4 separate regions of the Homo sapiens genome follow, and all the other regions are linked to region 4. Evidence: promoter capture Hi-C in 16 types of primary human blood cells and fetal thymus (Javierre and others, 2016). All regions are on one chromosome and are shown on one strand. The core of a region is centred on a gene start or on the middle of the fragment in contact, and the rest is flanking DNA. Distances in the headings are between cores, read along the strand shown.

Region 1 (6,604 bases), core at 961-3,460, 370 kb before region 4:
ACATCAGCCTCCTGAGTAGCTGGGACCACAGGCACATGCCACCACACCCAGCTAATTTTTGTATTTTTTGGTAGAGATGGGGTTTTACCATGTTGGCCAGGCTGGTCTTGAACTCCTGAGCTCAACTGATCTGCCCACCTCAGCCTCCCACAGTGCTGGGATTACAGATGTGAGCCATCATGCCCACCTCCTGGGCTGACTTTTGCTGTCTTACATCATCTGCATATTTAATCCCCTGCTGGATTCACTGGTCATGGGCTCTGAGGCCCTAAGAGTCTTAGGCACTAAGGAGCTGGCAGCACTGAGGGGACCCCAAAATCTCAGACTCAGGATCTGGCCAGTCACAGGCATGTGAGGGAACAACTGAGAGGCCCATTGCCCCATGGCAGGAGAAGGTGCTCTGGAGTCAGTCAGACCTGAGGGCAGTCAGACCTGATTCTCACTCTGTCACTCACTAGCTGTGTGATCTTGGATACATCACTTAACCTCTTGAGCATCAGCTTCCTTATCTCTAAAATGGAGATAATAACATCGATTTTGCAGTCTTGGTATGAGGATTAGCAAATCTTCTGATAAAGAAAAATGCCTGGTACATCATAGGAATTCAACAAATAGTACCTGTTATGATTATTGTGTATAGCAATTACAATAATACTAAAGAGAGGGTCTCAAAACAGCTCTGGGCACTCCAGGTGTGCTATTATTACTTACATTTCAGGGAGGTTTGTCTGCCATTGTCTCATCCTCATAAACACTCAGGGAAAGAAACATTATAAGGATAATAAATGGCTTTAAAAAGAAACAGAGCAAACACACACACACACACACCCCTCAGAAAAACCATGCCAAACACACAGGCTCTTGACAAATATTCAATCTGATTATAGCAAAACTGTTTTGTTTTGTTTTGTTTTTTTGTTTGTTTTTGAGACAGGGGTCTCGCTCTGTCGCCCAGGCTGGAGTGCAGTGGCGTGATCTTGGCTCACAGCAACCTCCTTCTCCCGGGTTCAAGCAATTCTCCTGTCTCAGCCTCCAGAGTAGCTGGGACTACAGGCACATGCCACTATGCCTGGCTAATTTTTGTATTTTTAGTAGAGACAGGGTTTCACCATATTGGTCAGGCTGGTCTCGAACTCTTGATCTCAGGTGATCCACCTGCCTTGGCCTCCCAAAGTGTGAGATTACAGGCGTGAGCCACCATGCCCAGCTGATTATAGCAAAATTCTAAGTGATAGTTGTATTCTTGGAAAATGAATGGAACGACTTTTGTCCCAGCCAAGATCTAGTGGTGTGTTGGAGCAGATACACCCTGAGTCTCTGGGGCACTCTCAGTCTATGTATCAGATAAGCATAAGGAGTATTGGTGGAGAAGGACAAGAATGGGAAAGGTGGGCGATGAGAATTCCTGCAGATAAGGACTGGTGAGAGTATTCTCTTTTGAAACCCTTAGTCGACAATCTTTCTGGTGCATATCAGATAAGCTGAATGGTTTAGGAAATCTAGTGTTCACATTTAGTGCTTAGAATTCTAAGCTTTTTTATTTTGCTTAAACAAATGGAATGAAATTTATTAACAAGTGAACCTAGTAATGAGCTGAAATTATTCTCACCAGCATACATATTTTTGGTAAATTATAGACTTTGAAGACAAAATCATGGTGTTTCCCTTACTGTCCAGTGGATGGCACAAAGAGACCATTGTAGATCCTGCTGGTTCAGCGGTAGCTCTCAATCCATAGATATTAAATGGGCAAATTCTATTTTTATTGTCTTTCAAACTAGATTTTTCTCAATGCACAACTTTTTTTTTCTTTTTCTTTTTTTTTTTTGAGACGGAGTCTCGCTCTATTGCCAGGCTGGAGTGCAGTGACACGATCTCGGCTCACTGCAACCTCCGCCTCCCGGGTTCAAGTGATTCTCCTGCCTCAGCCTCCTGAGTAGCTGGGGACTACAGGCGCATGCCACCATGCCCAGCTAATTTTTTTGTAATATCAGTAGAGACAGGGTTTCACCATGTTGGCCAGGATGGTCTCGATCTCCTGACCACGTGATCCGCCCACCTTGGCCTTCCAAAGTGCTGGGATTACAGGCGTAAGCCACCGCGCTTGGCCAATTATGCACAACTTTTTAAGGACCATCTCTATCACATGAACTAAAGGATATCATTTTCACTTGGGGGTGGGAAGTGGTGAGCTGCTTAAAAGCAATGCCTAAACCCCCTGGGCTTTCCTTCCTTTCACTTGGAAGAACCAGGGGGTAACTAACTGCTAACAATTCCATGCTTTCAGAGATCTAGGCGCAAGCCTAAGGGCTTCATCTCATTTAATCCTCATGGCAAGACTGTACAGTATTATCTCCATTTTGTAAAATGAATGATAAAAAGAACTTAAGCACAGACAGGCTATAGAATCCATCCAAAGAGATGGAGCTGCACTTGAGGCTGGGTCTTTGAGACCTGAGTTTGAGCCCTTCATCATTGTGTTGTGTGTGCTGCTAACCAATTTCCCCTCTCTGTCTTCTAGGATTTAATACATGGTGTCACATTCTGTCTGATCCATCCCAGTAGCTCTCCAGAGCTCCCAACAGGAGAGAGTTCCAAAATGTTTCCAGGGGTACTAGGCTCGGTTACAATATTTTGCTTGGTGGCCCAGAGTATAAACGTGGATATCTTAGGCTGGTCTATAGCTGAAACGTCTATTTCATTTGCAAGCCTATCTTTGGCTAAGAGGAAGTGAATCATTCTTGAGAACATCTAATTAATTGCTTTCAGATTCCACATGTTGACATTCTCAGGGCACATTTTTTTTTTCCCGTGCATTTCTGTTGTCAAAGTCCCTGCCAGCTCCTAAGGCAGTCTGAGCTGGCTGTCTTAGACTTTCAGAGCTGCTGGAAGCTTGGGGGAGGGAGGGGCTGTAGGTCAAAGAAACTTTATAACCTAGCTTTACCTCCCAGCTCAGCCACCAGCTGCCCTCAAATGTTCTGGATTGGAATAAGCCCAAAGATGAGTGGCAGGAGGGAAGGGCAAGCCAATACGTCTAGTTTGGTTCAGTCAAAGCCTTGCCCATTTCATCAGAATTTTAATGGAAAATTTCCAATAAGATTAAAATATAAGGTCACCCCAATTTTAGTATGGCTCCATTTAAAAAAAATCATGCATATCTTTGTTTTGCAATGGGGCCTTACTCTTGCCCAGGAGAGGTGCGGTGGTACAATCATGGCTTACGGCAGCCTCAACCTCCTGAGCTCAAGCAATCCTTTCACCTTGGCCTGCCAAATAGCTAGGATTACAGACACCCACCACCATGCCCAGCTAATTTTTAAAAAAAATTTTTTGTAGGTCCAGTGCAGTGGCTCATGCCTGTAAATCTCAGCACTTTGGGAGGCCGAGGCAAGCGGATCACCTGAGGTCAGGAGTTTGAGACCAGCCTGGCCACAATGGTGAAACTGCCGTCTCTACTAAAAACACAAAAATTAGCGAGGTGTGGTGGTGGGCACCTGTAATCCCAGCTACTCGGGAGACTGAAGCAGGAGAATCAATTGAACCTGGGAGGTGGAGGTTGCAGTGAGCCAAGTTCGTGCCATTGCACTCCAGCCTGGGCAACAAGAGTGAAACTCCGTCTCAAAAGTTTTTGTGGAGATGGGGTCTTGCGATATTGCCCAGGCTGGTCTCAAGCTCCTGGATATCAAGTGATCCTCCTGCTTTGGCTTCCCAAAGTGTTGGGATTACAGGCATGAGCCACCACAACTGACCAAATCATGCATTTCTATAGACAACGTCTGCAAGAAGATATTAATGGTGATTATATCTGGTTATGTTGGATTTGTATTTTTATTTGTACTTTCCTGTATTTTCTAAATTCCTGACATTCTACATGTGTACTCCTTTAATAATCAGAAAAGGAAACTTAAAATAGTTAAAACCAATTGGTCAGATATGTAAAATAACCCACCATCTCTCCAGAGAGGGCTGTTTGCTAGAACTTATTTTCTTCATTGAAATACTAGAGTGCCCCAATAAGTTTGAATAACACAAAAAAAAAGATAATGAAAGTAACTAAATTATCTAGGCCCAAAAGGAAATGCCACAAAAATTGGCAAAGAAACAACCATGACGTGCTATACCGGATAGCTCCTAGGCCCCCTTGGAGACCCTGAGGTACCCGACGAGGGACCTGTAGTAAGGCTGGCAGACAGGTTCTTCCTCTGTTAGCTCTGAGGTACAACAGTTATTCTCATTTTTATGTCTTTCACATGGCCAGAACTTTGCAAATCAGAGGCAAAGTGAATTCAGAATTAAAAATTTTCAGCACCATCCAAGTCAGTAAAACAGTCTTAGCTTATAACCTTTATTTTTTTTATTATTTTATTATTTTTTTATTTTTGGATGGAGTCTTGCTCTGTTTCCAGGCTGGAGTGCAGTGGCATCATCTCAGCTCACTGCAACCTCCGCTTCCTGAGTCCAAGTGATTCTCCTGCCTCAGCCTCCCGAGTAGCTGGGACGACAGGCATGCGCCACCACGCCCAGCCAATTTTTGTATTTTTAGTAGAGACGGGGTTTCACCATGTTGGCCAAGATGGTCTCAATCTCTTGACCTCCTGATCCTCCCGCCTCGGCCTCCCAAAGTGCTGGGATTACAGGCGTGAGCCACCGCGCCCAGCCCTTTATTTTTACTGTAAGCTGCCAGTAAACAGCACACCCACCTGTCTGCTGACTGTCCCATCTGGAAGTTGTGTAGGTCCTTACTGAATCTTACCTTCTTCCCTTCCCCTACCCAGACCCCATCCCAGCTGGCACGTGGAATCCTTTCCCTTTCTCCTCATGTCAATAGACCAGCAGGCAAAGAGAGCAGTTACCATAGTGGAAGGAGAAACGGGTCCTAGTCGTGGTGAGGAGGTAGGGCTGCTGCTTAACAAAGGCCGAGAGGGACATGTCTGATGCTCAGGTGATCCACTAGGACATCTCGCAATACTCCCATGCCCAGCTGTAACTATGATGGCCAAGTCCAAGAACCATAGCCTGATAAGAGTCTAGGACCCCCACTATACATGCCACCAGTAGAAGTGCCTGATGGGGAGAGGGATGTCTAGAATGAGTAGGAGGGAATGATGACAAAGCACAGCCAAGGACCAACTGCAGTGGCAGGTGGCAGCCACAGATTGAGTTAAGTAGGATTCTTGCTGTGTTCCCTAGTGGAAGCATCTCCCTTGTTGAGACCCACTGAGGTTAAAGTTGGAGACATGGGGAGAAAACAATGTCCCCGTGTTCATCACTAGAGTCATGATGGGCAAGGTCACAACTCATTTGACTTCTTGGCTCCCAGATTCATATACTCTGCCTCTTGGGGGCACTTCACCATAATACAGCCATTGGTTCAGTTGTATGCTGCATCCTGAGGGACAGCACTCCATCCCCGCAGTGCCATGTCCAAACTGCTGCCCCGCCTCACTCTCAAGAGGCTGTCCCACTACTCTGTCAGGCACCAGCTTCTGAATGCAGTGGTAAGACTCTGTCCTGTGATCACGTCTATGGCTGATTCTCTTTTGCCATACTGAGTCCCCTGATCAAAGCAGTGTTATACAGCCTGGCGCGCTGGCTCATGCCTGTGATCCCAGCACTCTGGGAGGCAGAGGGGGATGGATCACTAGAGGTCAGGAGTTCAAGACCAGCCTGGTCAACATGGTGAAACCCTGTCTCCTCTACTAAAAATTCAAAAATTAGCTGGGTGTGGCATGAGCCTGTAATCCCAGCTACTCGGAAGGCTGAGGCAGGAGAATCACTTGCACCCAGGAGGTGGAGGTTGCAGTGATCCCTGATGGTGCCGTTGCACTCCAGCCTGAGCGACAAGTGTGAAACTCTATCGCAAAAAAAAAAAGCAACGCTTATGATTGATCACACACTGTACTTTCTAACCTGAAGGGGTCTGGTAAAATCAACTTGTCTTCTCAAGGGACAGTACCAAACTGGGGGCTCAGCACTGACCTCTGCTGGCATGTCGGACATTTAAAAGTGGTAGCAGCTAGAGCAGTCTTGAAGACATGGAGCCCTCACTGCTGGGGCCGAGCACTGCTGGGTTCAATTCTGCTACCAAGGCTTCTCCATTTCCGAGCCCATGGTGCAGGCACTGGGGTGCCTAAGAGGAAGTGCACTAACTGGACTTCTGCTATGCACCTTCTTTAGGGGGCATTAAAGCACAGTTCAAAGACTCTCACATTTTGAGTTAACCCCCACAGGCCTGTGTGCCCCTTCTCCAGTCAGGTCATGTTGTCATTTGATCCTAGTTATTATTCTGAAAGGGTTCAGGAAGGGAGGTGGGGACAGATCTTGGAAAGGGCAAACATTGCCTTGTATGCCTCATCTGAGGCTTCCGCATAGTCTTAGGGGACTGGGAACCGTCTTAAGTGAATCTCACCTTCTTCCCTTCCCCCAGCCAGGCCCTAGCCCTACTGGCATGAGGAATCCTATCTCTTTGTCCTCATGCCAGGAGACCAGCAGGCAAAGAGAGCAGTTACCATACTGGAAGGAGAAATGGGTCCTGGTCATCAGAAGGAGGTACTCCTCAAGGGACAGTACCTGAGGGAGACACTTCCACTAGGGAACACAGCAA
Region 2 (6,754 bases), core at 3,623-6,122, 430 kb before region 4:
ACCTCACCTCCCAGGTTCAAATGATTCTCCTGCCTCAGCCTCCCAGACAGCTGGGATTACAGGTGCCCACCACCATGCCTGGCTAATTTTTATATTTTTAGCAGAGATGGGGTTTCACAACATTGGCCAGGCTGGTCTCAAACTCCTGACCTCAGGTGATCCAACTGCCTCAGCCTCCCAAAGTGCTAGGGTTACAGGTGTGAGCCATGGCACCTGGCCTAAACATCTCTTATTTATGCCTGCCAACACTTGACCAAAATTGGCATCTCTTGGAGGCACTAAGGTGGGGTGAAGGGACTTGTTGATGAGCGAGGGGCTGGAGTATTATAAAATGAAACTCTTTTTTCATTGGCAGAGATTCTTCTTCCATTCTTTTTATAGTTTATATTCCTTTTACTTAGTGGGCAGAGGGAAACCTCACAGCAAATCATCCTAGAGAACCAAGACCCGGGTCAGGAAGGAGTGGCTCATGTATTTGTGTCCTCAGACCTTCTTGGCCTTCAAGCTTAGAGCCCCAAACAGGAGTCCAGAGGGGGGATCTAGGACCTTACAAAGCAAGAAAAGTGTGAGAAGAACAAAGGTGGGGCAGATTGGGTAGGGGCTGGAGCCATCCTGGCTACTTTCTTTTAGGAAGGTGAAGCCGTGACGTCAGTGCTGTAGACCAATGGGTCAACACCAGACCCTGTGGTCAATGGACCTTCATCACCAGGGATTGGGAGGCTGTGCTCCTGAGGAGGTGCTACACCTGGGGCAGGGTTGGAAGCAGGCTGGAAAGGGCCTTGCTCTCATCATCCCTTGTATATGTTCCTATTAATCCACTTATCTTAGTATATATACTGGAATTTATTTACTGAAGTTCCCTCCAAAAAGTAAACCACGAATTCCACAATGTTCACCTTGACAGTAGGCACCTGAGGTAGGCAGCATCCACGCTGCCTCCAGGGGTTCCTCCCTCTCCCGGCGCTGTGGTTGGAAGGTGTCCCCCAAACCATATGTTGGAAACTTAATCTACAATGCAACAGTGTTGAGAAGCGGGACCTTTAAGAGGCAGTGGGGTCATGATGGCTCTGCCCTCGTGGATGGATTAATGCTATTATTACAAGTGTGGGGCCCCCTCTTGCTCTCTCTTCTGTGTCCTCGCACCATGTGATGCCTTTTACCATGTTACAAGGCAGCAAGAAGATGCACATCAGATTTGGCCCTTCCATCTTGGACTTCCCAGGCTCCAGAACCATGACCAAATCAACTTCTATTGCTTGTAAGTTATCAAAAAATCTGTGGTATTCTGTGATAATGGCACAGAATGGACTAAAATCTGATATTCGAGCCCTTGTGTAGTCCCCTTCCACAGTGTACCAGAGATGGTTTGTGTGAACCATAAACAGACATGCGATAGTATGTTTCTTCTGTGATTAGGTTATAAAAATATGACGGCTTTCATCTTGGTCAGTCTCTCTCTCTCTCTTTTTTTTTGAGATGGAGTCTCGCTCTGTCGCCCAGGCTGGAGTGCAGTGGCATGATCTCGGCTCACTGCAACCTCTGTCTCCCGGGATCAAGCGATTCTTCTGCCTCAGCCTCCCGAGTAGCTGGGACTACAGGTGCACACCACCATGCCCAGCTAATTTGTTTGTACTTTTAGTAGAGACGGAGTTTCACCATATTGGCCAGGTTGGTCTCAAACTCCTGACCTCGTGACCTGACTGCCTCGGCCTCCCAAAGTGCTGGGATTACAGGTGTCAGCCACCGCTCCCAGCCCTCTCTCTCTTTCTCTCAGATCACTATGGGTAACTAATATAGGACCTCTTATTTATCTCAGCTCCTACAAGAGTATCTGGCATTTAGCAAATCCTTATCAATGCTGATCAAATGAATGAATGAACAAACGTGGCGACATTTAAGCAAACTAGTAATGCAGTCAGTCTAAGCTAAGAGTTGAGACATTTCATATGTAACTTTAATGTGGTTTATCTTCTCAGGAATTCCTACCAAGTGATAATGTGGCAATGGAGAATAGAATGAAACAAATTATAGAAAGATGATTTAACTTATTGATCGGAGCAAAAACCTAAGATGATTGTAAACAAAATTTATACAGCACAAAAATGAATCATAAAAAATAAATGACATGCACAAATCTCCAAAGTAAGTTTTTATTACAAAAACCTTTACTACAATTCAATGTTTTATTAAGACTAAAGTCAGGACCTTGCCAACTTACTGAGTCATAAGGAAACACATGAGGAAAGTCAACATGGTCTCTAGGCTGACTTGAATTATTCCTTGACTAAGAATTCTAGGGTTATGTGGACTTTTCTGTTAACATCCTGACTTAGTTCCTTTCTTTAGCAGCAAAAAAAACAGCAGAAATAAAATTCTTGGCAGGCTGCTCTACAGAATAAAGTGAACAATAGGAAATATGGATATGAAGTGCAGAAGCAGCAAGTTACCACAAGATGGGGCTATACACTCAAGAAAGAACAGTTGGTTAGCGAAGTTTCTCTATTATCAAAAAAATTTAAAAATACTTTGAGTTTATTTGATGCCTTCATCTTTACAGCCCAGCTAAGCAATCCCATAAAAATGAGCAACTGACTAATGTTTTACAAAGCCCCTCAGTCTCCTTCCAGAGAGTGGAGGATTTATTAAGGATAGGCTATTTTGTTATCTGCAAAGCTCTCCTTTCATCTACCCTAATGTCTCATGATCCTGGATAAACCCATTTCCCTGTAAGGTGAGCGTATGCTGGTATGAGGTGTGAGCCTTCAGGCAGAGTGTGGTGTCATTGTTCTTGTAGGTAACTTGGTGTAGGGAGAAGACCAAAGACCTTGATGTCAGACCAACATGAATTCAAGCTCTGGCTCTGCCATCAGTTAGCCAGGTGACATTTAAGTGATTCAGTTCCCTTAAGTCTCAGTTTACTCATTCACCTATAAGTTGTGAGAATGAAATGAGATATAGATAAAGTGCTTAGCCTAGACTCTGGCACTTTGTTAATAATTAAGGGCCATTATTATTGTCTCTTGCTTATTGTTTAGTTCTACCATCTGTAGCCACCTAATTCTTAGTCTAGCGATTCTGGAGCAGGAGTCATCAAGATAAAAAATATAAGCTGATTTGTTCTTTTTGTTGGTTTTACATAAAAACACTTAGACAACCTGAGATATGTTGTTCTTTTTGATGATTAAAAAAAACATTTAAGGCCGGGCGCAATGGCTCATGCCTGTAATCCCAGCACTTTGGGAGGCTGAGGTGGGTGGATCACCTGAGGTCAAGAGTTCAAGACCAGTCTGGCCAACATGGTGAAACCCCGTCTATAATAAAAATACAAAAATTAGCCAGGCGTGGTAGTGTGTGCCTGTAATCCCAGCTACTCGGGAAGCTGAAGCAGGAGAATCACTTGAACCCGGGAGGCGGAGGTTGCCATAAGCCGAGATCGTGCCACTGTACTCCAGCCTGGGTGACAAGAGTGAAACTCCGTCTCAAAAAACAAAAACAAATTTAAAGTGGAAAAGGAGTTAAGTGCTACACCAGGAATATGTATGTTACATGAAACCATAAAACACAGATAGTAAAAGCACTGAAAGTCCATTTGATAACAAAGCAAAGGCTTTGTTAAGATCAAGGGTAAAATAAAATCTTCAATGCACACACAGTAGTATTAGTTACAATTGACCCTTGGTTTATAATTTGAAGGCTTATTCTACTTTACATATATTATGTTAATTCAACATATCTCAAATGTTGACTTTGAGTGGCTAAAATATTCTAAAGGAAACTAGAAAATAAACAGCTCACTATATCTTTCATAAAATAAACAAAAAGTATTTAGAAATTGATGTGCTGCCTGAACTTAAATCACACATGACTCACTTCATTTGAATAGAAGATGGTGGTTTACATTGTTTGAAGGACCCACACTCTGAGGGAATTTCCCAACATCCATCCTGGAAGGGATGAAAGAGTTCTCTAAATTCCATTATTTTCATTCCCCCCGGGCAACAATTAGATTCTCTGGTATCCAGATGATTGACACCTTAGGCGGATTTTATAGACACCCATACCCATAAGGCAGAGACCAACCACGATGGCCCCAATCACAGGAAGCACAATTGTGTAGTCAGACGAGCACTCATCCACTAAGAGAGAAAACAAATACAATACAGTGGGTAAGGTTTGGTGATGCAGTCCAGAAAGCAGGCTAGAGGGGAAAGAAGATGAGCTTTGGCATCAAACAAAGCTTGACTTTTAACTCCACCATTAACTAGCTTTGTGACCTTGGGCAGGTAATTTACCCTTGCAATTTCCTAATTTATAAAGTAAGCAAATAATATGTAAGACTGTCAGAAGATTAAATAACCATATTTTCTTAGTAATTAACATTCAATAATCATAATCCTTATTTCCTGAACTGAGTAAGAAGTCACTCCAGGCATACTCCCTGCTAAGTGGGATATGCTTACATAAAAGAGACCAGCCGGGCACAGTGGCTCACGCCTGTAATCCCAGCACTTTGGGAGGCCGAGGCGGGCGGATCATCTGATGTCGTGAGTTTGAGACCAGCCTGACCAACATGGAGAAACCCCATCTCTACTAAGAATACAAAATTAGCCGGGCGTGGTGGCACATGCCTGTAATCCCAGCTACTCGGGAGGCTGAGGCAGGAGAATTGCTTGAACCCGGGAGGCAGAGGTTGCGGTGAGCCGAGATCACACCATTGCACTCCAGCCTGGGCAACAAGAGCGAAACTCCATCTCAAAAACAAACAAACAAACAAACAAAAAACATTTGTGTGACCAGTGACCAGATTACAGATGATCTCTTGAGAAACATGATTTTTATCCACTTTATAAAACATTTTTGTCACTCCTAAGGTTCTATTGTATTACTTTTAGCTAATATTAGAAAACAGACCAAATTATTTATGAGAGCTTAAAAGTGAGAGTTTACAAACTTATCAAGACTGTTTTTTCTTTATACCATTAGAAAACGCTTACTCAATTCATTTAATGTAATTGATTGGGTCAGAGACTAATAAATCTCAACCGAGGAAAGACGGAGGGGTCTGGGGTAAAAGGGGAAGTTGATAGAATACTCTAATGAAGAGACTGGGAGAAAAGAGCAAATAAATGAAGAACCATGTCTTAGTCATTATAGCTAAAAAGATACATGTGTGAGGTCATTGTACGAACTAACACTGAAATTATGTCCTGAACCAAGGATCACCATCAACCCAATTCAGTGTACCTGAGATCTGAGAAAAAAAGTATCAGAAGAGGTCAGAGAAGACAGAGTGGCAATTAATTAAAGATTCCAGGAAAAAGAAAATTTGGACAAGAAAGAAACTGTGATTGTAGTACACGATTTGGCTTGACAGCAGACAATATTTATAAAACTATAATAATGTGTGCCTTAATACCTTACTGATTTACCCAAAAATAGTTGTGTAACCACAAATCTTTATGTGCTATAGCAGGAAGTCTAAAATGGATCAATTAGGAACTATCATGATAAGCTTTTATTTTTTAGAGTTATGGAGATAGCAATCAGAAGAAATTGTTAAAATTAGTTAAAAGTATCTTGTATCTTGGGGCAGGGAGGCAGAGGGACAGAGAAATGTTGCTTTCCATGATAAGACCTTTTGGAGTACATGAAACTTTGTTACTTATATATGTTTCTCTTTTTTTGCAGCCTGGAACTCCTGACTTCAAGCCATCCTCCCACCTCATCCTCTTGGGACTAGGGGTGTGTGCTACCATGCTGGGCCAATTTTTTATTTTTTACAGATGGGGTCTTGCTATGTGGCCCAGGCTGGTTTCAAACTCCTGGGCTGAAGCAATCCTTGACTTCCCAAAGTGCTGGGATTACAGGCGTGAGCCACCACACTTGGCCTATATTTCTTAAACGAAAAAAGAACTTTGACAAGTTAAGGAATTAAAATGAGTGGGAAAAAATACAAAAAGTTAAAACAAAATGTAATGCACACACCTGTTGACCCAATAATTCTATCTCTAGGAAATTATCCCAAAGATATATTCATACACTATGCAAAGGTATATTACAGCACTGTCCATTTTATGAGACAATTTAAATATACGTAAAAACTAAAATAGTATTCAGACAATAGAAAATAATATAGCCATTAAAAAGAACGTGGTAGGTCTCGGTGTTCTGTAACAGAAGTTCCTTAAGCTCCGTGAAGTATCATGTGAACCCAAACCCATGTGCTTGTGGGTCCAGTGTGAAAAGATACACCAAAAACTGGCAGGAGGACTGGGAAGGAAGTGGAGGGCAACTTTTACTCTCTCTTGTTAAGCTATTAAATTATTTAACATTGTTTAAACATTTCTAAAATGCAAAAGAGTACACAAAGAAAAGAAGTGACTGATCCAATCACCCCATTTCTTCTATTTGAATCAATCACTATAAACCTTTTTGGGCATGTAGTTCCTCTGTGAATGTGTGTGTGTGTGTGTGTGTGTGTGTGTGCACACGTGTGCATGTGTGCAAACTCACGTGCATGCTTAAAGCAAAATCACTCTATTTTAAATAGTCTATTCTCATTATAAATAACTAAAATAATAGAGAAAAAGCACAAACAAAAAAGTAAAACCAATTACCCCAAGACCATCCACCAAGAAATGTCATTGCTAATATGGAGAAACATTATTTCAGGCCTCTTTCTTTAGAACTACAAGGATAGATAGGTTAGAAAAATAAATAGAAATACTTTTATTAAGATAGGATCATACAAGTA
Region 3 (6,910 bases), core at 433-2,932, 460 kb before region 4:
TTTCCACCCTTTAGCGGTGGTATCATCCCAGTTGAGGATGCAAGATTTAATAGCTTGGGCTTCAGTGTTCTCACACACGAGATGAGACTATAAGAGGTGATCTTGAAGGTACCTCTCAGATTTAAAAGTACTATACAATTCTATTCCAAGTCCTTGTATTTAAAAAAATGGAGAAATGGGGAGACAAAATGACTTGAGGTATTTTAATGAGGTAGAAGTCTCAACAATTTTTAAGTTTCGTGATACCTGTGTATAAAATAAAGTAACCAAGAGCTGACAGAAAACAGGCCAGATTCACTTTAGGAACAAAAAAGTATAACGTCTATTAAGTTTCAGCTAAAGAGGATAAGTGGGCTGGGTGCAGTGGCTCACGCCTGTAATCCTAGCAATTTGAGAGGCTGAGGTGGGGGGATTACCTGAGGTCAGGAGTTCGAGACCAGCCTGGCCAACATGGTGAAACCCCATCTCTACTAACAATACAAAAATTAGCCAGGTGTGGTGGTGCGCACCTGTAATCTCAGCTACTTGGGAGGCTGAGGCAGGAGTATCACTTGAACTTGGGAGGTGGAGGTTGCAGTGAGCCAAGATCGTGCCACTACATTCCAGCCTGGGTGACAGAGTGAGACTCCATCTCAAAAAAAAAAATAAATAAATAAATAAAAAGCATATGCAGGGAAACAAACAAATTACAGAAGCAATTCCACCTATCTTTTTGTCTATACCTGGAAGATGTGGTTATAAAGGACTAACTAACCATTTTAGATTATTCACAAAGCACAAGATAAAAGCACAGCGTGTGCATTAGAAACTATGTAACTAGGCAGTAGTATATACATATTATGTATATGACTATGTAGTTGAGCAGGACTAGTATTTCACTGGAGCGGAGATGCAGTAGACATCTACACATCTATATGCGTCTATACACTCATTGCCCTACAATGCACACTCAGATGCTGCCATCCATGAGGAGCTGCTGGGAAGACCCACAGCTTTGGCAGGAGAGTTCCGTGAGCTAGCTTCCTCACGAGGCTGCTGCTTTCCCACACCTTTCCATTTCAGCTGATGTTACCTTCTTGATCCTGAAGGAGGGGGATCATCTTTCCTGATCTTTATGAGGTATTTTCTAGCTCATAGCATCGTCTTCCCTTTACATTCTTCAGATAGGCTTCTGATAAGTTTCAAGGCCTATTCTGGGCAGATGTATCTATTAAATGGTTGCTTGTTGGTAAAGCTAGCTTAAGACTGATTCGGTTTCAAGGCTACTGTTGACCTAAAGCTTTCTTTTGCAATCTTCTAGTGAAGACAGAAGAAGGGAGAGAGGGAAAAAGAGGGAGAAAGAGACAGAGATCCCACTTAACTGTAATCCACTATCCCAACAATGTTCTGATCATCTATTCCATTTTTCACAATTATCTAAGCTGCAACTTAAAAGCAATGGCTTAAACAAGATTAAGAAGCTGCTTCCCCGGAGCTTGCAGTGAGCCGAGATTGCGCCACTGCAGTCCGCAGTCCGGCCTGGGCGACAGAGCGAGACTCCGTCTCAAAAAAAAAAAAAGAAGCTGCTTCCCTGATTCAAGGTAGCTCTATACCAGCTTATTGTCATGTCTATAATTCTGCCACCAGAGATTATTTTCTGTGAGCTACTAAAGATTCATAACATAAAAATAATGTAAACTATCTGTGCTGTTAAGATTTTTTTGTTTTTGTTTTATTTGAGATGGGATGTCACCCAGGATGGAGTACAGTGGTGTGATCATGGCTCACTACGGCCTGGAACCCCTGGACTCAGGCCGTCCTCGCCCTCCTCATCCTCCCAAGTAGCTGTGACTACAAGTGTGTGCCACTACGCCTGGCTAATTTTTTAATGTTTTGTAGAGATGAAGCCTCACTGTGTTGCCCAGGCTGGTCTTGAACTCTTGAACTCAAGCAATCCTCCCACCTTGGATCCCACAGTGCTGAGAAACTGCTGAAAATACAGGCATGAACCAAGTCTCCTGGCAAAGAGTTTTACTTCTATAAGCCATTAACAACTCTAACACTCTCCAGAGTGACATACTTGAGGATAGTTCTTTAGACAATAGCTAAGCTTTGAAAGGGAAGACAGGAAATGGGTCTATGGTACTATCCTGAAGAGCCCTGGAGGCCTAAGAAAAGAAAAACCAGAAGAACAAGAAGAACATTAACATTACTTACACCAACTTTTTTTTTTATTTTTTTATTTTTTATTTGAGACGGAGTCTTACTCTGTCGCCCAGGCTGGAGTGCAGTGGCGTGATCTTAGCTCACTGCAAGCTCCGCCTCCTGGGTTCACACCATTCTCCTGCCTCAGCCTCCCGAGTAGCTGGGACTAACAGGCGGGACTATAGGCGCGTGTCACCACGCCCGGCTAAATTTTTTGTATTTTTTAGTACAGACGGGGTTTCACCGTGTTATCCAGGTTGGTCTCGATCTCCTGACCTCGTGATCTGCCCGCCTCGGCGTCCCAAAGTGCTGCGATTACAGGCGTGAGCTACCGCGCCCCGCCAACTTCCAACAACTTTCTTATGTTTCTCTGGGGCACTCCTACAATTAAGTAACTAAAAAGGGCATCTACAATATTTCTGGAAAATAAAAGCAAGCAAACGTTCATATAAATGGTTGAGTTTGCATTTATAGACTGATCTTATGTACCAGATTGTGCTTAAACCTCATTCCATGAATTAATTCATTTAGTTTTCACAACCCAAGGTACTCGTATCATCTCCAAGGTGAGGAAATTAAAGAAGAAATATTAAGTAACTTACCCAAAGTCACACACCTAGTGAGTAGCTAACTAAGACCTCAGCCTTGACTGCAGAGTCTGTGCCCTTGAACACTAAACTGTCAATCTTTCCAGAATGATGAAGGATGATAACGATGAAGCAAAAGAAGACAAAGAAGCAAAGCTATCTACAAGCCTGAGGGTTTTTTCACTGCCAGAGTTATTGCCACCAAAGCTTAGAGCTCAAAATTTGAAACAGAGCTGGAGTCAGGTGAGCTAGACTGAGTCATCTGATAGCGTTGTTCAAACTTGGGTACAAGAGTTTTTGACAAAATAATTTCCCAGCTCTGTGGAAGGTACATTTGCTCTTCTTGACAACTTCACTCTTCTAACAATGAGAAGGAACTCCAGGAGTCTTTCTCTGAACTGGACACCTGATGGGGCACAGCTGAACTGAAAAATGGCTTTGAGGGCATCCCGGCCCCATTTCTTACTAGCTGTGTTTCGTTGAGGAAGTCGTTGATCCCTTTGGGCTTCCCCGGAACCGGATTATAACAACGCTCCCACCTAAGGGGTGCTGCGAAAGCCCGATGTAAACGGCTACGAGCTGCAGCGACGGCGAGGGGAGCCTGGAGGATGGCGGGCCCAGTCCTCAGAAATGGAAAAACAGAAGCCAAAGGCGCGCTGAAGCGTGGATGTGCGGAAGCGGGGAGAAAGGGAAGGGCTGGTGGGGATGTCTTCCTCCCGACGCCGTGACTGCCGGCAGAACCCCTCCGAAAGTGCCTGGGGTTTTCCTACCGTCCTCCCCACACCGACCCTGGGTTCCGCCGCACCTCCCACCGCTCACGCGGGTCCGTGCACCCCTCGCTCCCGCCTCTGCCCACTGAGCCATGGCCCCTCCACCCACCTCGGCGGCAGGAGCAGGCTCGGGAGACGATGCCACCGGTTCCTCTCCGCCGCCACCAGCAGCACCGACACCGCAGAGGCCGCCGCCATGTCCCTGGAGCCCGGCCACTCCGTGACTCCCCAGTACAGAGGCAGCTGCGTCCCACACGCCAAACCCGTTCCTCCACTACGAAGCCTCGTGACCCCCGCCGGCCACCGTCGGAGCCTGAGCCTACCTTTGGGCTGATCCAAGAATGTGAGGGCGTCTCCACGAACACCAATCAAAGACCAGAGCCCGGCTTCAGTAGCGACGATTGGGCAGTCTGGCCACGTGCTCGTGGGGGTGTGGCCTTTGTTTCTGCGTCCCCTGGGGCCTGCTCTGACTAAGGCAAGGGTTTTCTCCATCCTCCCCCTCTTGGTTGCCTGTCACTGTTTCTTCCTGCATCCCGTGGGGTTTCTTCGCTCTCGTCACCTTCTGGGAGAAGAACCCTGGGGAAGAAGCCAAATGCGGATGGACAGCAGGATACACAATTCTCTAGTGCTCTCAGGGATGAAAAAATAAATAAGCTAAAGTGAAAATCTTTAAACCACCTGAGCTTAAAACAGGTATTCTAACTGACTATTGGGAAAAAGAGGAAGTCAAAGAGCAAACTGAGGAACATCTAGAGAATAAAGAAACTGTAAACACTACATGTAGATGCTTCATGAGGAAAGCAGGAGGGAGAAATTAGGGAAGATAAAGGAATAAATAAATGAATTCAGGAAACCAGTGTCAAAGGACTAATAAACCCACAGGTTCACAAAAAATAAAATAGTTATCTAATCAGAAATAGAGAAAAATGCACATTTGACATGATTTAAAAAACAAGCAGGGGAAAATCACAGACACAGGAAACAAATTATAGATTTGTAAGATGCTAATTTTGCTTAACTTCAAGTGAACTTAAAACTCTGGATGAAATGGATGATGTTACAAGAAAATACAATTTATCAAAATAGATCCTGGAAGAGACAAAATTTAAGCAAACCGTTACCACAGAAAAAATAGAGAAGTTTATCAAAGAACTATCCTTGCTACCACCATGGCCCACTTTCACCTTCACCTTCACCCCTAAAAGTTACAAAAGCCCTCCATGTCTTGCAAGAAAATTCCACACAAATGAGTAATTGACTCAAATGCTATTAATTCTGTCCCAGAGCACAAAAAAGATGGAAGTCTTCCAAACTCTTTTTAAAAAGTAAACATAACTTTGATACCAAAATCAACAAAGATATCACGCACACACACACGACAGACCAATTTCACATGTAAGTATCAGTGGAAAAATTCTAAATAAAATATTAACTACGCTGGGTGCTGTGGCTCATGTCTTGTAACCCCCCATTGAGATGTGACAGCGTGCTGGCAGTCCTCAGAACCCTCGCTTGCTCTCGGCACCTCCCCTGCCTGGGCTCCCACTTTGGTGGCATTTGAGGAGCCCTTCAGTCCCCCACTGCACTGTGGGAGCCCCTTTCTGGGCTGGCCAAGGCCGGAGCCCACTCCCTCAGCTTGCAGGGAGGTGTGGAGGGAGAGACACGAGCGGGAACTGGGGCTGTGTGCGGCACTTGCGGGCCAGCTGGAGTTCCGGGTGGGCGTGGGCTTGGTGGGCCCCGCACTCGGAACAGCCAGCCAGCCCTGCTGACCCCGGGCAATGGGGGACTTAGCACCCGGGCCAGTGGCTGCGGAGGGTGTACTGAGTCCCCCAGCAGTGCTGGCCCACCGGCGCTGCGCTCGATTTCTCGCCGGGCCTTGGCTGCCTTCCCACGGGGCAGGGCTCGGGACCTGCAGCCCGCCATGCCTGAACCTCCCACCCACTCCATGGGCTCCTGTGCGGCCCAAGCCTCCCCGATGAGCGCCACCCCCTGCTCCACGGCGCCCAGTCCCATCGACCACCCAAGAGCTGAGGAATGCGAGCGCACGGCGGCGCAGGACTGGCAGGCAGCTCCACCTGCAGCCCCGGTGCGGGATCCACTAGGTGAAGCCAGCTGGGCTCCTGAGTCTGGTGGGGACGTGGAGAGTCTTTATATCTAGCTCAGGGATTGTAAATACACCAGTCAGCACCCTGTGTTTAGCTCAAGGTTTGTGAATGCACCAATCGACACTCTGTATCTAGCTGCTCTGGTGGGGCCTTGGAGAACCTGTGTGTCGAAACTCTGTATCTAACTAATCTGATGGGGACGTGGAGAACCTTTGTATCTAGCTCAGGGATTGTAAACGCACCAATCAGCACCCTGACAAAACAGGCCACTGGGCTCTACCAATCAGCAGGATGTGGGTGGGGCCAGATAAGAGAATAAAAGCAGGCTGCCCAAACCAGCATTGGCAACCTGCTCGGGTCCCATTCCACGCTGTGGAAGCTTTGTTCTTTCGCTCTTTGCAATAAATCTTGCTACTGCTCACTCTTTGGGTCCACGCTGCTTTTATGAGCTGTAACACTTATCACGAAGATCTGCAGCTTCACTCCTGAGCCCAGCGAGACCACGAGCCCACCGGGAGGAACGAACAACTCCGGACACGCTGCCTTAAGAGCTGTAACACTCACCGCGAAGGTCTGCAGCTTCACTCCTGAGCCAGTGAGACCACGAACCCACCAGAAGGAAGAAACTCCGAACACATCTGAACATCAGAAGGGACAGACTCCAGACGCGCCGCCTTAAGAGCTGTAACACTCACCGCGAGGGTGTGCAGCTTCATTCTTGAAGTCAGTGAGACCAAGAACCCACCAATTTCGGACACGCCATCACTTTGGGAGGCTGAGGTGGGCCTCCCAAACTGCTTAAGCCTAGGAGTTTGAGACCAGCCTGGGCAATATAGTGAGACCCGCATCTGCACAAACATTTTTTTAAAAAAACTGGGCGTAATGATGCACACTTGTAGTCCCAGCTACTCGGGAGACTGAGGCAGGATCACTTGAGCCCAGGAGTTTGAAGCTGCAATGAGCTCTTATCATGCCACTATACTCCAGCCTGGGTAACAGAGTGAGAGAATGTCTCCAAAAAAGAAGCAAAAAAAATAACTGAAGTATCCTGTAGCATGTGAAAAGAATAACACACTGTAAATAAGCAAGGTTTATTCCAGAAGTATAAGGATGATTCACTATTAAGAAATCAATTAATAAAATGAATATTAAGAGTTTAAAAGAGAAAAACTTATATTCACAGAGGCTTAATAGGTCATTGACAAAATCTGACCTTCATTCTAGATTTTAAAACTCAGTAATTCAAGAAGTGATTGGGACCAGT
Region 4 (6,260 bases), core at 3,022-5,521:
AAAACAAAGCAAATGAAAAAATGAGTGAATTAATAACTTCAGGAAAGACAAAAGGTTTACAAGAAAAGAAACGTGATCATTGAGTAATTTGGCTCAACAGAGAACAAGGTTTTCGTGAACATAATAATGTAAACTCTTGTTGTGATAACATTATGTTGAAAGATTACAGGGAAGGAAAGCTTATGGTAAGAGGTTAGGTAAGGATACTAAATCCTTATTTGAAATCAGTGAATGATGTCTAACACTGAAAAATCAAGAAAGAGCAGTATAAGTGTATTTTGCAGAAATATAGAGCTAGTGCCAGAAGAAACAAATAGAAGTTGAAAGTGGTAGCCTTTGGCGCATGAGACAGGGTGGAGGAGGAAATAGGAATTTTTGTTTTTTCATTATAAGCCTTTAAATACTATTTAACGCTTTGTTTACTATTTGCATATCTTTAATAAAAAATAAAATTTAATTTTAAAAAAATACATGAAAAACAGAAAGGCAGTGAAGAGACAGTTCAACAAAAAAAGAACTGCAGATGCCCCTTAAACATACGAAGAGATGTTTGATCTTACTAAAAATAAGAAAAATGCAAATTAAAGCTAAATTGAGATATTCTTTCTCATTTATCAGATTGGTAAAACTTCAGCGGTTGGATGACACCCTCTTTTGGTGATGCCGTGGGGGAACGCAACATGATTCAACCCCAATGAAAGAGAAGTTGCAATAACCGCTAAGACTGCAGATGCATTTGACTCAGCAAACCCCCTTCAAGAAATGCATATGAAAAAAACTCATGTTTCAGGTTATTCATTACAACATTGTTTGTAATAGCAAAATGTGGATTAGAAATAGTCCAGATGTCTGTCCGTAGGGGACTGTTTAATAAACTATTGTCAGTCCCTTAGTGGAAAGTAATTATTTTCTCAGTGAATAAAGGAAAAAAATGACATAATTTTATAACCAGCTTCCAGGCCCTCCAAAACACAGAGAGCTGTGTTGAAAGCCTCACAGACTGGTCGGGCGCGGTGGCTCACGCCTGTAATCCCAGCACTTTGGGAGGCCGAGGCGGGTGGATCTCGAGGTCAGGAGATGGAGACCATCCTGGCTAACACAGTGAAACCCCGTCTCTACTAAAAATACAAAAAATTAGCCGGGCGTGGTGGCAGGTGCCTGTAGTCCCAGCTACTCAGGGGGCTGAGGCAGGAGAATGGCCTGAACCCTGGAGGCGGAGTTTGCAGTGAGCAGAGATTGTGCCACTGCACTCCAGCCTGGGCGACAGAGCGAGACTCCGTCTCAAAAAAAAAAAAAAAAAAAAAAAAAGAAAGCCTCTCAGACAGAGAGACTCTTTGACCTCCCTAAACCTGAGCATACGAAGAACCCCTTTCAAAACCTCAGACACAAAGCGAGAGAGTGTGTCAGATTTAACGTCAGTCCTAGGTCTAAATCCCAGCTTGGCTACTTTTTATTTGCTGTGACACTCTGGACTTTGGCTCACCGTCGGTAGGCTGGGGATAGGACTCCCTGCCTTGTCAGGTTGTTGTGAGGGTGGAGTGGACTAGAGTATGTGATACAGAAGCTACAGGGCCTGGCCCACAGTAAGCGCTCCACAAACAGGAGTTGATAGGAATAGTAGCACCGGAAGAAAGAATCCTGTCTCCAGGACAGTATTCATTGTAGAAGGAAAGTCACGTTGAAAATCCCAAGAGAAGAAGCAAAAGTCACTTCTCTGAAGAGAAGAATTGAAGGAATTTCCTCTCATGACCAGGCAGTTTTGGGAGAGGCTCTGTATACACAGTCAGATGCCTTCACCCTCATGTTCTCCAGCTTCTCATTGCCGTTGCCTCCTCTGACGACCGGCAGAGACTTTCCCTAAGTATCCTGGATCAGCAGGGCTGGAAGGACCCAAGCCCAAATTCCCATTTAGGATGAGAAACCCAAGAACCAGAGAAGACCAGTGATCAACTCGAGGGCACACAGCCAGCGGGCCTGGTCCACAGCCAGGCCAACCCGCTAACAAAACTGCTTCCAGGTATGCATTTTATGATAGCAAGGGATACAAAAGGATCAACCTAAATGTGCGTCCCCAGGGCATTGAGCTAACTTGACTTCACTCACTCCTGAGAGGGGCTGCAGTCAACGTGAAAGCACGTGATCAAGGTTGGTGGAGAAAGTAATGTGTTTATATCAACCCATTTTGATGGCTGTGTTTACACTTTATATTTTACACACTTCCCATGGAATGAAGTCCCAGACCTAGTGGCAGCTTGCATTGCAGTAACAAGGATTTCCAGAACATACCCAGTCCCTGCTCCAGCAATGACCAGATATATAATGCTGAGTTTTCATTTCCTCATCTGTGAAATATCAGCCACCTTCATCATGCTGTTACAAAAATAAAATCAGATAACTATGTCTGTCTGGCACACAGCAGCCACTGCTTCCCTCAAACCCAGATATCCCCTTGTCTTATCAACACAGGAGACCTAATGAGTCCCACAGCAACCTGCTGATCCTGCTCTATGAATTACAAAGAAACGTTTCCCCCCAAGCACCTCAAAAAAAAAAAAAAGAAAGAAAGAAAACGCTTTCCATAATACTTTCATAGGTTAATCGTTTTCAATTTCCTCAGCCAGAATCAAGAGTTAAGAAGAATCTCATTAAGAAGAATTCTAAGGGTATTTCTTTTCAAGTTCCCAAATACTTTCTTCATTATCCACATTGCCCTTGCAGGCTGGTTCCCCCATGTCCATGCTGATATGGAGAACACTGGATCAGGTGTATTCACTGGGTTCCCAGCGCTATAAAATTCCTACCCCAGGGACGTGCTCATGGGAAACACTCAATAAGTCATCCTTAGCTGAATCAAGCAGAATCAGAAAAAGAATTCCAAGAAAGATATATTGAGCATCTACTTACTATATGCTAGACACTGTGTAGGACCCTTTTCACGCTCTTGTTTAATTATGACAGCCCTGAAAGGTGATCATCATTGTGCTCACCTTACAGATGATGAAACAGACATTCAGAGCACTTTGTGACTTGCCTAAAGTTTCACTGTCAAGAAGGAACCAAGTCTCCTGACTTCAGGCCTTCCCACTATGAGATCACCAGTTTATCGTAACTAGAGGCCTCTCCCATCTAAAGCATCTTTGTAACTGCTTTCCCTTTCCCCACACTGCCTACACATAAAGAAGCCCCTAATTTGTAACAAGTCATTTGACAACTCCAGAAGAGGGGCCACATCCTTTTTCTCTATGTCTGTTGATTAACAAAGACAACATTATGTTTCCAACACCAGTCAGACCAAGGGGGAAAAAAGTCCCCATGACTTCAGTAATTTTCCATCCTTTGGAACAAGGAAATATACACAAAAGGTTTACTATAGAATGTAAGCATTGCTTTTAAATGATGCCAATCTCTCTTTTAATGTGGCCTAAATCCTAAAATTTAAAGTGTGATAAGCCGGGCGCAGCGTCTCACACCTGTAATGCCAGCACTTTGGGAGGCGGAGGCGGGTGGATCACCTGAGGTCGGGAGTTCAAGACCAACCTGACCAACATGGAGAAACCCCATCTCTATTGAAAATACAAAATTATCCGGGTGTTGTGGTGCATGCCTGCAAATCCCAGCTACTCGGGAGGCTGAGGCAGGAGAATCGCTTGAACCCAGGAGGCAGAGGTTGCGGTGAACCGAGATTGCGCCATTGCACTCCAGCCTGGGCAACAAAAGCAAAACTCCGTCTCAAAAATAAATAAATAAATAAATAATAAAATAAAGTGTGATAGTGTCCTTTCTTATATTTTAAGTAGACACACAAGCCTTAATATATATGTAAACCATAAATATCATGGCCAACTGTTCAAGATTGGGCTCTCACACTAACACACCTCTTCCTTGCAACTTGCACCCAATTTGACTCTGGTCCTAGGCATGCTGACCTGAAATAGTTGCTGGCTGCGGCAAGCACCACGCGGTGGCAGGAGAATTCCTGAATGTCCACACACAAGATGACATCTGTCAGAGCGTTTTCCATTCGCAGGGTTTCCAGGCCATTCTGAAGAATTAAGGAGAGTCCCGCGTCGTCAAATTTGACCTTTTCCCCATTTAAGATCTCGACCAAGTCTCCTGTTTTCTGGGAGGGCTCATCTGTAGAAGGTGCCAGGGGCCCTTCCAAACTCTTCTCGACCACATCACCCATGGTCCAGGCGCCCCTTTGTCCTGCCATCAACATCGAGACTGAAGGAGCGCCCAAGTGTCAGGCAGGCCCCATTGCAGGAGCTGAGCGGATTTCCTGTGCAGGGCCCTCCACTTATCACCAGCTGTCACACACACATAACAGGAAGTCTCGCACTTTCTCATCCTGTTACTACAAATGCCAGCAACTTCTATTCTTCTTCTTTCTGTGAGTAATCACAGGGTTAGAAATTACTTAGAATAGGTGTGTGGGAGGGGGTTCTGGAAGAGGAGTGTCCTCTCAGAGTCCACTGTGAGTGCTGTGTGTTTATTTTGGTGCATCTCCCACCTCATATCCGTGAGCAGGAAGCCTCCGGTGGTGGCTGTTACATTTGTACTCCTAATGCTATCAATAACCCAAGTCGTCAATGAGGGGATGGACAGGAGACAGTCTATAATCCTCCTGCTTCACATTTGTACTCCTAGTGGCTCAATAACCCAAGTCGTCAGCGAGGGGATGGACAGGAGACAGTCTATGATCCTCCCACTTCCTCCTCCCAGGAGTCTGAGACCCCACAATGATCCAACAACCGTGCTTTGTAAACCATGGAAACCCCACTTATCCCTGACATTCTCATTTCTGGCGGCACTGCAGATCGTCTATCTTCATCCTCCTCCCTACCCAGGGGAAAACAACGTCATGGCAAACTTTCATGTCTTCCCCCACCAAAAAAAATGTCTATTGTTTCGAATATGCTTTGGGGGCACAGAAGAAATGGTTTCCAAAACTCCATCAACAGCATCTTCTCAGAGGATGAGTCAGGGTGGGTCTACACCGAATTGCCATAGCACGTCTCAGATTAGCCCAACATCTACTGACCGTGCATCTAACGGTGGATCCTGAAGTATTTTCATTACCTCTGCATGTCTCAGTTAAGTAGTAATAACTGTCATTATTAAAATCCCATGATATCCTGGGGAAGTTATAGGAGCGTATCAGTTAGCGTTCTCTCACGCCCAACAGTAATGCTTTACCAGGTTGCTAGGTATTTCTTAGCCCAGCAAACTTGACATCTAAAATTAACCATTACAATTACAGTCATACCCAGCATAATGATATTTCAGTCGATGATGGACTCCAGAGAGACAGAACCAAAAGGATACCTAGAGAGGCATAGCAGAGGGAAATTATTAGGGGAATTGGCTCACGTGATTATGGAGACTGAGAAGTCGCATGACAGACTGCTGAGAGCTCAGTTCAAGTCCAAAGGCCTCAGAACCAGAGAAGATGGTATAACTCTCAGTCCAAAGCCAAAGGCCTGAGAATCCAGGGGGTGGGGAGACTGGTGTAAGTCCTGAAGTCCAAAGGCAGGGGATCCTGGAGTCCTGTTGTTCAAGGCAGGAGATGACTGTATCCCAGCCTCAGGAGATAGAGACATCGACCTTTCTTCTGTTTTTGTTTTCTCTGGGCCCCTGGCTGATTGGATGGTGCCCACCCACACTGAGAGTGTATCTTCTCTACCGAGTCCACTCAGACTCACTAATCTCTCCTGGAAACAACCTCACAGACACGCCCCATGGTAATGCTTTAACAGGTTGCTAGGTATTTCTTAGCCCAGTAAACTTGACATCTAAAATTAACGGTCACAAGTACAGTCATGCCCAGCACAATGACATTTCAATCGATGATGGACTGAATATACAATTGTGGTCCCAAAAGATTATAATGGAGCATATAAAGAAACCTGACGGCCGGGCGTGGTGGCTCATGCCTGTAATCCCAGCACTTTGGGAGACCAAGGCAGGGGGATCACAAGGTCAGGAGCTCAAGACCAGCCTGAGCAACATGGTGAAACCCCCATCTCTACTAAAAATACAAAAATTAGCCAGTCGCGGTGGCGTACACCTGTAATCCCAGCTACTTGGGAGGCTGAGGAAGGAGAATCGCTTGAACCCGGGAGGTGGAGGTTGCAGTGAGCTGAGATTGTGCCATTGCACTCCAGCCTGGGCAATAAGAGCGAAACTCTGCCTCAAAAAAAAAAAAAAAGTCATGGAAAAATAATGCCATTCACAATGGTAATAAAACATATGTAAATGCC

The links. The method cuts DNA at HindIII sites, captures the fragments that hold promoters and counts their contacts. A CHiCAGO score of 5 or more calls a contact.
Region 1: a contact is called between a fragment that was not itself captured here and the fragment with the promoter of KLHL6 in region 4, in 3 of 17 cell types (M0 macrophages, M1 macrophages and M2 macrophages). The highest score is 7.7, in M0 macrophages.
Region 2: a fragment that was not itself captured here is called in contact with the fragment with the promoter of KLHL6 in region 4 in 11 of 17 cell types (M2 macrophages, activated CD4 T cells, M1 macrophages and 8 more); the score reaches 16.1 in M2 macrophages.
Region 3: a fragment that was not itself captured here is called in contact with the fragment with the promoter of KLHL6 in region 4 in 1 of 17 cell types (activated CD4 T cells); the score reaches 5.6 in activated CD4 T cells.

The regions. Positions count from the first base shown.
Region 1 is chr3:183,183,108-183,189,711 of GRCh38, forward strand. The region is part of intron 27 of MCF2L2 (MCF.2 cell line derived transforming sequence-like 2); the gene reads right to left. Among named protein-coding and RNA genes, the nearest start is that of LAMP3, 24 kb to the left of the region's middle. The HindIII fragment of the contact is 1,360 bases long and covers 1,531-2,890 here.
Region 2 is chr3:183,120,079-183,126,832 of GRCh38, forward strand. LAMP3 (lysosomal associated membrane protein 3) reads right to left here. Exons shown (of 6, transcript NM_014398.4): 6 at 2,137-4,136. The coding sequence ends at 4,003. Among named protein-coding and RNA genes, the nearest start is that of MCCC1, 24 kb to the left of the region's middle. The HindIII fragment of the contact is 1,275 bases long and covers 4,236-5,510 here.
Region 3 is chr3:183,095,702-183,102,611 of GRCh38, forward strand. It overlaps MCCC1 (methylcrotonyl-CoA carboxylase subunit 1), which reads right to left and starts at 3,795. Exons shown (of 19, transcript NM_020166.5): 1 at 3,651-3,795. The coding sequence starts at 3,739. RefSeq lists an enhancer at 3,721-3,860. The HindIII fragment of the contact is 810 bases long and covers 1,278-2,087 here.
Region 4 is chr3:183,551,435-183,557,694 of GRCh38, forward strand. KLHL6 (kelch like family member 6) reads right to left here and starts at 4,272. Exons shown (of 7, transcript NM_130446.4): 1 at 3,927-4,272. The coding sequence starts at 4,219. It overlaps KLHL6-AS1 (KLHL6 antisense RNA 1), which reads left to right. Exons shown (of 2, transcript NR_046687.1): 2 at 619-892. RefSeq lists a silencer at 1,132-1,301. The HindIII fragment of the contact is 8,561 bases long and covers 178-6,260 here.